Linked DNA regions of Homo sapiens: region 1 is linked to region 2. The links are contacts of gene promoters, found by promoter capture Hi-C in human tissues and cell types (Jung and others, 2019). All regions are on one chromosome and are shown on one strand. The core of a region is centred on a gene start or on the middle of the fragment in contact, and the rest is flanking DNA. Distances in the headings are between cores, read along the strand shown. Region 1 overlaps IFNG-AS1 (IFNG regulatory antisense RNA 1). Region 2 holds the start of IL26 (interleukin 26).

Region 1 (6,289 bases), core at 2,396-4,895, 230 kb after region 2:
TTTTTCCATGTGTATTTTTTAAGAAAGTATTTAACTTTTTTTTTTAAGAGACAAGGCCTTGTTCCGTGGCCTAGTCTGGAGTGCGTTAGTGCAATCACAGCTCACTGCAGTCTGAAACTCCTGGGCTCAAGCAATCCACCCATCTCAGCCTTCTCAAATCTGGGACTTACAGGTGTGCACCACGATGCCTGGTTAGTTTTTTATTTTTATTTCTATAGAGATAGGGTCTCACTATGTTGTCCAGGCTGGTCTTGAACTCCTGGCCTCAAGCTATTCTCCATCCTCTGACCTTAGCCTCCCAAAATGCTGAGATTACAGGCATGAGTCACTGCATGTGGCCAACATTTTTATTTTGAGAAGAAAATATATTTTGAGAGGGTGTTAAGTCATCTCTTTTAAAATGAAGTTTTGTAATCATAGGTAGAAATGTTTTTAAATACCTTTTCTTTCTTTTTAATATTTTTATTACCTTTTTATTTTGAAATAATTTCAGACTAAAAAAAGTTGCCAGTACACAGAACTCCCATATACCTTTTACCAAACTTCTCCCAGTGTTAATATTTTACTTTACCACAGTATAATTTTCAAAATCAAGAAACTAACATTGATATTATGCTATTAACTAACCCCAGACCTTATTCAACATTTGCCAATTATCACATTAATGCCTATTTTATAGCCAAGATCCAGATTATGATTAAGGTAATAATGATTAAATTCAGCTTATACATATTTAGTAAGACTACCACAGAAGCGATATTGTGGGCTTCTCAGTACATATATCATGGGTCCTTTTTGTTGAATACTTCTTATTATTGGTGATGTTAGCCTTCAACACTTGGTTAAGGTAGTGTCTGCCAGACTGCTCCACTGTAAAGGAACTGTTTTTACTTTTGTATTTAATAAGGACTTCGTAGAGAGAGACTTTAGGACTATGTAAATATCCTGTTTCTTATATATTGCCCCACTCATCGCCAACTAGTGATTTTTTTTACTTTAATAATTTATTTGACACTCGTTAATTATAATTCTACTGTAAAGAAGAGCTTTCCCTTCTCTCCCATTTGCTAGTTATTTCATTATTGAAGTATATCAGTATGCAGTCATGAATACTTATTTTATTCTATATGCTATACTCCATTATTACCATAATTTACTTTGTTCTTCAAATTGGCTCACAATTGACCACTGGGGGCCCCTTCAAGTTGGCTTCTGTGTCCTTTCAACATGTGTCCACCATTTTGTTCTTACTGCTTCTTTTCTTTCTGGCACAAGATGTTCCAGGATAATCTTACACAGTACTTTCCCTGCCCCAGCCATGAGCTCAGTCATTTCTCAAGGATCCTTGGTTTCTTTTATTAAATAATGTCATCTAGAAAGCAAGATCTAGGTGCTCTTTGTGTTCATTGCTACTGGTGTCATTACTTTTAGGCCCTCTCATCAGACAAAGCTAGATAAAAATCTGTTTATAATAAACATGTGTACATACACATAATCTAAGTCTCTATCTCTGTATCATCTATTATCTATCTATCATTTATCTATCACCACGAGTTCATACATTTGATTCCTATTTATATCTATCTATCTATCTTATCTATTATCTATTATCTATCATCTATCTATCACCATCAGTTCATACCAATACATTTGATTTCAGTCCAGTATTACAGTGTTAATTCTAGCCTTCCTCCTTTCCTTACTAGTAACTCATTTCTCTAAAAGTAAGAAATCTCCCTCTTGTTATCCAAATATTATTTACTTATTTGCACAATCCTAAAATAAACATTAACTGGGTTTATAATTACTAACCAATGCCTCTTTGGGGCTGGGGAGCTTGCAAACTAATGTAAAATGTTTGTGTACATTCCTGTTGGTCTTTGGTCTTAGAGTATATAATATGTACATTGTATTAATAATACATGTATATAATAATACATTGGATTTCAAAGTTGTCTTCAGTTCATTCTTTTCTTCCTCATCCCCTTCAGTGTGGTTTGTAATTGAGTTAGGCTCATTTGTTATTGTTTGTATTGAATTTTGGGTTCTCCCTTCACCCTGCTTGATTTTAGTCATTTATTTATATTTTTGGTAATGAAACATTACCATGGTTTCTAAAAGTCAGAACTGTAGAAAGAGTTATACTCAGAGAAGTGTTCCTTTCCCACCCCCATCATCCCCTGCACCCCAACTCCTTCCTGTTATCCCTGTATATAAGCAATCTTAGTTCCTGGGTTAACCTTTTTGTGGTTTTCTTTCTTTTTCTTTTTCTTTTTTTTTTGGTCTCTCTTTCATAGAAGTTGACACATAATAGATATTCTTTTGCACTTTGTCTTTTTTCTTTTTCACTTAAGAAAAACCTATTTGGATTGTGTTCTGAAAAACAATCCAAATAGGTTCACAGGAATCCTTTTCTATTTTATTTTCTCTTAGAGCCTGTAGAGGTACACAATTTGTTTAACTACTCTCTTGTGTTCAGATATTTACATTGTTTCCAATATTTTGCAATAACAACAATGTCACAATTAATAACCCTGTGCAAATATATTTTTGCCTTATCGGAGGTGTATCTTCTGGGTAAATTCCTAGAAGTGGAATTGCTGAATTAAAAAATAAGTGTATGTGTAGTTTCTTAGGCATTACCAAATTTCCCTCTATAAAGCTTGTACCACTTGACATTGTCACCAGCAATGTGTGAGGGTATCTCTTTCCCTACAGATGACTGCCATATTTTTAATTTTTTTGCCAATCTGATAAGTGAAAAATAATATTCCTATAAAGTTTTAATTTGTATTTCACTAGTTATGAATGATATTAAACATTTTTTGCTATCTTACAAGGTTTTTTATATATCTTTTTGTGAATTATCTACTCTTGTTTCTTTATCTAGTTCAATATTTTTTTAAAATCCCTTCTCTTTCAATTTTAGGAGTTTTTAATATATTAGCAGAATATATACTTTATTATAGAAAGATTAATGTTGCAAGCATTTTTTTAAAGTTTGTTTGTTGTTTGACTTTGTTTATGGTGTTTTTGCCATGCATTAAAATTTTTATTTTTATGTGGCCACTCGTCAATCTTTTTTTTTTAATTGCCTCTGGATTTTGAGTCATGGTTAGAAAATCTTTCCCTATACCAACGTTAAATAGAAATTCACCCATGTTTTCTTCTGCTATTTAAAAAAAAATTTTTTTTTACATTTATATTATATCTCTTTTTCATTGGGTCTTTATGCTTGTATATGGTGTGAGATATGGATCTAAACTTATTTCATTCCCAATACCTATCCAGTTGTCCCAGAACCATCTATTAAAATTTTCTTGCCCCAGCAATTTTGTGATGTCACTTATCATATACTAAATTTCCATATGTACTTGAGTCAATTTCTGGGCTTTCTAATTTATTCTATCAGTTCGTTTGCCTAGTCATGCACCTGCATCCTACACTCTTAATTATGAAGACTTTATAGTATGTTTTAATGTGTGATAGGGCTAGTTCTTCCTTCTAGTTTTTCTTTTTAAGTGTTTTCTTGGCTCTTCTTCAGTGTTTTATGTCTTTCAGAAATGCTTTCCTCATACAGTTTTTGCACATTTCCTTTTAAGTTTATTTAAGTGTTTCATGTTCTTTGTTGTTATTATAAATGAGGGTTTTTCTGTTATTACATCTCCTAAATAATCATTGTTTATGTATATAAAATAGTAAGTTATCTATGTAATGTTTTTATCCTGCTATTTTATATTATAATAACTTATCTTATTGTTTTAGTTAATGCCTTTTCTTAACTTGAACCAGAAATACATTTTTATTGTGTTAAGCCTCTGAGATTTGATTTATTTCTTATAGTAGTTAGCTGAGTCTGACAAATAAAAGATAGAAATAACTTTATTACCATCATAAAGTAAAGATATTAAGAGCAGAAATATTGACAAGTTTGCCTAAGGTCATAGAATGAGCAATGGACAACACTGGTTTTTAAATCAATATCCTATGTTATTAACCACTGCATATTACCCTCTCCTCAAGGTGTGAGTTCCTGAGCTTTTCTGCTAGCTTCCATTTGAAAGAGAGAAGCCAAGTTCATTCTCCATCCTTCTTTGTCTACTTGCAGTTCTGTTACTCATTGTAGGGAAATGAGTGGGAGCAGAAGGCAGACTGCTAGATGAATAATAGCATGGAGGGACACACAGCTACATAGATTTAAGAGGGTGTGAACTCATTGTACTTTATAGGTGTAGAAAACTATACAAGATTTTGTAGTTATAAAAATAACAAAATCTCAGCTCTGATTCACCATTCAATTTGTTCTCACTATACAACAAGTATGATCTTTTAAGAATGAAACTAGTTAGATGGCATTCTCTTTGTTTAAATCTTTCAATGGATTCACATTTGTATCAGAATAAAGACAAAACTCATTCACATGGCCTCTGCTTTACTATCCAGGCTCAGCTCCATGCCTTGTACTAATTGCTATCATACGGTATTTTGATCACTTACTTACTGCCCTGTCTTGTAAACTCTTCAGGACAGAGACTTTTTAAATTTTGGATTCCAGATTCTGGTACCATGCCTAACACATAGTAGGCACTAAATATATGTTCGTTGAGTGAGTGAAGGAGTTAATGAATAAATATTGTTTTCCTACCTTTTTTGATTTCATGGAATATGCTTATCTCTTCTTTAGAATATTTTCTTCTTCCCTGCATGAGGAATGAGCTTTCTGTATCCTTAAGATTGCCACCATCATCAGCTGTGAGCTGTCATGAACTTTTCAAACTCTGAAGAGAAATGTCAAATGAGTGATCTGAGATTCTTGTTTTAAAGAAAATAATCAGCTGATATATTTCTTCCTACCACTTATATTTTCTACTCTTTATGGAAATGATTTTGCATTTGTTGGGATAAATAATCCTCAGTCTTTTGTAAAAGGCAAACTGAAAGTTTTATTTGAATATCTCACCCTGCCATTTCTTTTCTTTTCTTTTTTTTTTTTTTTGGAGACCGAGTCTCACTCTGTCACCCAGGCTGGAGTGCAGTGGCGCAATCTTGGCTCACTGCAACCTCTGCCTCCCAGGTTCAAGTGATTCTCCTGACTCAGCCTTCCGAATAGCTGGGAATACAGGCACATGACACCATGCCTGGCTAATTTTTTGTATTTTTAGGAGAGACAGGGTTTCACCATGTTATTCAGGATGGTCTCGATCTCCTGACCTCGTAATCTGCCCGCCTCGGCCTCCCAAAGTTCTAAGATTACAGGCGTGAGCCACAGTGCGCGGCCCTTTTTTTTTTTTTTTTTTTTGAAATGGAGTCTCACTCTGTCACCAGGCTGGAGTGCAGTGGCACAATCTCAGCTCACTGCAGCCTCCGCTTCCTGGGTTCAAGCGATTCTCCTGCCTCAGCCTCCTGAGTAGCTGGGACTATAGGCACGCGCCACCATGCCCAGCTAGTTTTTGTATTTTTTGTAGAGACAGGGTTTCACCATGTTGGCCAGGATGGTCTCGATCTCTTGACCTCATGATCTCCCACCTTGGCCTCCCAAAGTGCTGGGATTACAGACGTGAGCCACCACTCTCAGCCCACCCTGCCATTTCTAAAAGGCACTTTCTCTCAAAAGCCTGGTCCAACCCTGGCAATAAAGATTTTCTAAGTATCACATGTAGTCTCTAAACTAGTTTTCTTGACATTTGATAGTAATAAAAGTAATTGTTTATTGAGCTTCATCTGTGTATTAAGACACTCTTGTAAGCATATTATATACAATTTATGAAACATATTAGTTTCACCACTTTCTGGATGAGGAAACTGAGGCATAAAGAGGTTAGGTAACTTGCCTAAGTTTCTTTAAACACAGCCAATAATAAAATGAACTGAGATTGGAATTCAGGGAAGCCAATTCCAGGGTCCATACTTTAAATCTGCGGTGGATCACTTTCATCACTTATGATGCTTCATCTTACTGCACCTCCTAGAACATGTAATGTTGTTTGTGTGCTTCACGTACATCTATTTCATCATCCAGATAAGATCCCTAGATGTTCTTTTTGGAGGAGTGTCTTATTTCTTCAGCCTTACAATGTTTAGAATAGCGGCAGACATGTTGTGTGTCCATTTCATACACAATTGCTAAATTGCTTTGAAAGCTGTATTTAAATTCTCCCCCTAGTTTTAGGTAATTGTATATAGGGGTTTTACCAAGTTAGGATAAAGCAGCATATTTAAAAAATCTCCGTATTTGTTTACTCAAGAAATAAGTGTAGGATTGTGATTATAATAGATGTAATAGGAACTC
Region 2 (6,283 bases), core at 3,644-6,143:
ACATCCTCCCCGTCCTCCTCCGTTGCTCTAGAACAATCCACACAACCTTTCTAGCTACAGTGAACCTGCTAAGCATGCTGTTTCTCTTAGCCTATTGCAGTGACAGTTGCTTTTGGCTGAAACAGGTAACTCCATTGCTCACTCCCTTACTCCATTCGTGATGTTACTTAAATGTTCCCTTTGCATTGAGGCCTTGTATGACCATCTATTTACAATCATCTCCTATCTCAGCACCTCCACCTCTCTTACTCTAGTCTATCTTTCTCAAAACATGTAGTATTTTCCAACAGTCTATATCGTACTTAAGGGATATAACTTACATCTATTATGTTTATTTATTGTCTGTCTGTTCCCCCACCCCACTAGAACATTTTATGAAATTAAGAATTTTGTGTGTTTTGTTTATTAATGCATCTGTGGCCCTAGTGCAGCCTGGAAGGTAATGAATACTCAATAAGTATTTGATGAATGGCTGTGTTAATGATGACATGTGCAAACCTGCAGAGTACAAGTCAGCTAGCCAAGGGCCAGGACACACAGGTGGAGGCTCTCAGGGAATGTTCATGTGCTCCTCCCCATCATACCCTTCTGCTTATCCAGCTTCCACGTCTCCTTTCCTTCCTCTCCAGTCCATTTACAACACTCCTCATTCCTTCTCTAACCTGTTCTCATCACGATGGTAAACAGGTTTACCATTCTGTTGGTTACCAGGCTTACCATTGTCCAATGTAGTGGGGCCTATCTTTTCTGGAGAGGCAAAACCACAGTATCTTTGCATCAAACATATTTATCTATCTATCACTGTTTCTTATCTACATCCTCTGGCTCTATTCTGGAAAAAATATATTGAATTTCAGTTTTTATAGTATGATTATATAAACATAGATCCATGTACTTCTTATGCACAGCTGCATTGATTTTAGGATTTAGGATCCTAAGAAATTATGCCAATCACTGAGATCATTAAATAACATATTTCAACCAATGTAAGATGTTGTACACTGGAAATTGCACCACTACTTTGTTTACCACTAATAAAGGAAAAAGTGCTACTAATTAAACTATGATGCATTTCTTTCTTAAGATTTAGCACTTGATTTTTGCTTTTCAAATAAATATGTAATTTTGGTCATTTCTCCAAAAACAAATATTTACTTTTCTAATATCAAATTTGTGCCCCACTGCTGTTCTGTGTCTTTCTATGAACATATTAACATTTGTTTTAATGCGGAATCATAATCTTTCTGAAGACCTTTTAAGTAGCAATTAAACACCTGTAGTAACAACCATGCACACAGTTCAAGTGAAGTGATGTCATCATTAGTGGTTGTGACCAAGTTCAGGACTGCGCAGGTGGGGATAACTGTGGATTACAATGCACACTGTCATTTAAGAGACATTAAAATGTAAAAAAAAAAAAAAAAAAGGTGTGTTTCAGTGTCAACCAAATAGGTTAGTAACAACAATTAGTTGTTGTTTTTTCCCCATAGGAGGAAAGCAGATAAAAAGCGGTGTCACTGAAGACTCGAAGTGAGCTAAGATTCTGCACAGGAGTTGGTGAGCTGAGTTTGCTCATGGGCTACACTGGGCCATCAGAGAGGGCAGCTGGCATTCTTTTGGGTGGGAGAGGACTTAAACTTTAAGGAAAATGACCGCCATGCTGGCTTTTGGAAATTGGGGCAGTCAATTATATTTTTGGCAGATCAATTGTTTGAATATTCTCCTGTACATTACACAAGAGTGGCCTCCCTAAAATATCCTCTTAATGGTCCAAGTTCACCCTCTGGATGTGTGTGGGATTAACTCAATTCCTTATGCCTATGTATTTTTTTGGACATATTGTCAGATTTTTGCATTTCCTTCACTTTTCTCACTTTCTTCAACCATTTCTGAAGGCTCCTGAAGGCTCATGATAAACTTTAACATTATTCAGAGTATTACACATGCATTTCTTATTTATTATTTCATAAATAATAAATCAGTAGCTACCACTTCCAGAGTGCCTCTACAGCTGTCATTGTGCTAGACATTCTATTTAGATTACGGTATTTTTGCTCACGACAACCCTCTGTAGTTAGGTGTGATTATTGTTCCATTTTAATGATGACAAAAACGGAAGCCCAGAGAGGACTAATAACTTCCCCAAGGCCATACAGAATCAGAGTGAATCAGAGTTTTGAAACCCAATCTCTTTGTAATTAATACCAACTTTTATACTTTCTGTGTAAGTTACTTATGAAAGTGGTTGGGCGCGGTGGCTCATGCCTGTAATCCCGGCACTTTGGGAGGCCAAGGCGGGTGGATCACGAGGTCAGGAGATCGAGACCATCCTGGCCAACACGGTGAAACCCCATCTCTATTAAAATGCAAAAAATTAGCTGGGCATCAGGGTGCGTGCCTGTAGTCCCAGCTACTCTGGAGGCTGAGGCAGGAGAATCACTTGAACCTGGGAGGCAGATACTGCAGTGAGCTGAGATGGTGCCACTGCACTCCAGCCTGGTGACAGAGCGAGACTCCGTGTCAAAAAAAAAAAAAAAAAAAGATACTCATGAAAGCGATATAATAAATATACATTCAGTGAAGCAGAGAATTATCTTTTCAGTTGGTGCTCCTACAGTATTATGCATTTATTCTAATGGCTCTTCTGTTATTTAGGACACTTTGGGGGCTCCTCTTTGGAACTGTGTTCAGGGCCCATGTTTTGAACGTCCTTTTTAGTGGCCACTATTTACTCTTTGAGATCAGATCTTCCTGCTTATCAAAGGACCCTAATGAGGCAGGTTTGCTGACTAAGATGGAGGATGACTGTGATCCAGTGGGTGATATGGTCATTCATACAGAAATGGCCACAGTTTTCTTGAGTTGGCTGCAAACCAAAGCAGAGGCATTCTAGGACTATATATGGATTTTCCTTGTGTGATGATGATTTGAGGGATGTAAGGTATTTATGGAAATGTAACTACCAGAAGTTAAAAAATAGCCAGAACCCACATCAACTTAATTTATCAATATTAGCCACTTGAGTTATCAATATTAGCCACAAGTTTTGTTGGTACACACCAGGGATCTGAAATTGGCTGCTCACGGCAGTATATGGCTCTGGGAGGTGTTTTGTGTCATCCTTTTATTGCACTCTGTGTTTATAGCACAGTGTGTTAACAGGCTATGTGATTAGACAGACTTTAAGACTGGTGACCATATAAGCATATTAGCCGCAATTATCTGGTATCTACCCACCCAGTGTGTTTGTATTAATCCTCGCCCTCTAAGGGCATTTGAGCTTTTGATCCCTCCAAGTTCACACTGTTTCTTTCCAAAGGAACTTATAATACTAGGCATTCCTCTGCTCAAATAAATAAATAAATAAATAAATAAATCCCTTTGTGTATTTCATGTCCTAGTTCAAACATCCTTTCAGCCACTCCCAACTGAAACGACTTCTTTCTTTTTCTGAATTTCATAAAATTTCAGTGAACTTCACTCAGCACTCCCAGTCAGCTGACTTCTGCTATAGTTTTTTTGTGAATAGTTCTCATCTCAATTGATAGGGTGTGTCGTTACCAGTGATCTTGCTCCTGGGGAAATAAGGCTTGGATTCTTCCAAGAGATCCACTCATGTTTTGAAACAGCAGACATCAGTCCAAGCATTTTTCTTATTTTCCCTTTTTCTTCTTGGTTGTTTTTTTTTTGTTTTTTTTTTGTTTTTTTTTTGTTTTTTTGACAGCCCTGCTTGCTTTCATTTGGAATTTAGTCTTGGGTTCTGATGCTTGTTATTGACTGACTAGTTTTGATGACTCTCTTAACTCACAACCAGATTTCTAGTGTTGACTTATCCCTGATACACATTAACTCTATTCATTCTAGGCTTTAGTGACCTATCTCTGCTTCTCAGAATATGACTCTGGGCTGCCCTCTTCTTATATTGGGGCTGCTACCCAGAATGAGCCATATTTACTGTCTAGGAAGAACTGGGACAGAAATGAGGATGGGAGTTTATGGAGAATCCTCCTTGGTGGCTCCCTCATACCTAGCACTGGTTTTTGTGTAGGCAAGTCTTTAATAAAAATGTGTGAATGGAAGAAATTTAAAAAATAAAGCAGTTATGGTAGCACGTCATGATGTGACAAAAGTATTTACTCAATTAATAATGGATGCACTTCTTTAGATGAGGTGCCATGGTAGATGCTGTATTCAAAGGTGAAAATATACGGTCTCTTTCTTCAAGGAATTTGCACTCTCCTGGAAGTTGGGAGTTATAAGGAAAGTCTGAGTGGTAAATTTGGACAGAGATGACAGAGAACTTATTACATTGTGGACCTTAGTCCCAGGTCCAGTTCCAAACATATCTTGAATATGTTAAGGGGAGTTACTGTTTCTGCACTGGAAATGTTCTCGCTGCTATCTGCAGAATAATGGCCTCTGGGGGAAGCTGGGTGAAGGATGTGGCAAGCAATAAACACAAGACCCATTTGAATCGTGAGCAGATTTCCTGGGGCTGCCCATTTCTACCCCCTTGTTAAATTTTTTCTGGGATTCTGGTTAGAAAAGGAGATTTTTCACATGGGGTTTAAAAAATTATGACACAGCCCCCTGGAAATCATCCTGTTTTTATTGGCATGCCTTTTAAAATAATGCAAGCTGCTGTGATAGGCAACTGAAATTCTGAATTCTTTTGGAAATGAGAACGCAATCTTACCAGTAAGGCTGAGCTTTTAAATAATGTCAGTTGATGGTGTGATCAGCGTTTTTTGACTATGAAGCAAGCTCTTAAAAAAATAGAACAACCAAAGTGATCTTCCTCTATATAAACTGTAAATTATCTTTCACAGCACCTCATTGGACTGGTGGCTTTGAGGGCTACATTAAGTAGGTTATCCTCTCATCTAACCGGCATTAGTATCTCTTGGGCTGCTGTGAGTGACACACGCTGAGTGGGGTGAAGGGAAATGCTGGTGAATTTCATTTTGAGGTGTGGGTTGCTGTTAGTCACTCTGTCTCTTGCCATTGCCAAGCACAAGCAATCTTCCTTCACCAAAAGTTGTTACCCAAGGGGAACATTGTCCCAAGCTGTTGACGCTCTCTATATCAAAGCAGCATGGCTCAAAGCAACGATTCCAGTAAGTATTAGGCTCTGCTTAAAATCATGACCTCAAGGACATTTACAATCTTGGATACAACTTATTTCTCTTTGTATTATTGTAGGAAGACCGCATAAAAAATATACGATTATTAAAAAAGAAAACAAAAAAGCAGTTTATGGTAAGTCAGAAAGTCTTCTTCTTTTTTACATTTCCACTTATTTGATGTTTATTTCCCCCTGCATTTAAATTTTTTTCAGAGAGTAATTAAGTAATGATCGGGGGACATTAAAAAACGATTCATAATTTACCATATGCAATTTCTTGTATCTTATTTTTAGAAAAACTGTCAATTTCAAGAACAGCTTCTGTCCTTCTTCATGGAAGACGTTTTTGGTCAACTGCAATTGCAAGGCTGCAAGAAAATACGCTTTGTGGAGGACTTTCATAGCCTTAGGCAGAAATTGAGCCACTGTGTAAGTATACACAACAAATACTGTGCATTTGATCCTAGAAACCTGTTTAGAAGTCAGCATGTAAGAATCTGTCTCACACCAAAGGGTGAGTAAAACGAGCTTTGTAATTGTTGGCTTGTAGTCCAAATGGAGAGGTCATCACCAGGGAAATAGCATTAAATAACTGTACATTACTCAGAATGCTGCTATTTATTATTTCTTAAAGAATGGCTCATAAAACACACTGAAGAGAGCTAAAGTAACATGACATGGTTTTCAAATAAATACTTTAAAATCATTCTCTCATTATGTGATTCCCAAGTAATCCATTCATCCATTTAATATTTCTTGAGTACCAACTTTGTGCCAAACACTATTCTAAGTCTCTCTTTCTCTCCCTTCCTCCCTCTCTCCCTCTCTCCCTTCTTCCCTCCCTCCCTCCCTTCCTTCCCTCTCCCTCCCTCCCTCTCCCCTTTCTCTTCCTCCACCCTCCTTCCCTCCCTCTCTCTTTCTTTCTTTTCCTTCCTTCCTTCTTTCTTTACTTCCTTTTCTTTCTTTCTCTCTCTCTTTCCTTCCTTCCTTCTTTCCCATAACAATAATAACTAACTGATGCCCTTTTTCTTATTTACTTATGTTTTTAAAAAAATATTTGTGCCCCTTTTAAGGCATAATCTCAGTAAAAAACTTAAAAAGGGATAGACATGCCTTCTTTGGTACCTAAATTATTTGATGCCTCAGTATGGTCACTGT

What was found. Contacts are between HindIII fragments. The study calls those that stand out against the background at their distance.
Region 1: a fragment that was not itself captured here is called in contact with the fragment with the promoter of IL26 in region 2 in 1 of the 25 tissues and cell types used here (hippocampus).

The regions. Positions count from the first base shown.
Region 1 is chr12:67,994,430-68,000,718 of GRCh38, reverse strand. IFNG-AS1 (IFNG regulatory antisense RNA 1) reads right to left here. Exons shown (of 4, transcript NR_104125.3): 2 at 4,646-4,778. Among named protein-coding and RNA genes, the nearest start is that of IFNG-AS1, 8.1 kb to the right of the region's middle. The HindIII fragment of the contact is 7,498 bases long and covers 1-6,289 here.
Region 2 is chr12:68,224,420-68,230,702 of GRCh38, reverse strand. It overlaps IL26 (interleukin 26), which reads left to right and starts at 4,893. Exons shown (of 5, transcript NM_018402.2): 1 at 4,893-5,117; 2 at 5,203-5,259; 3 at 5,420-5,554. The coding sequence starts at 4,947. The HindIII fragment of the contact is 9,012 bases long and covers 1-6,283 here.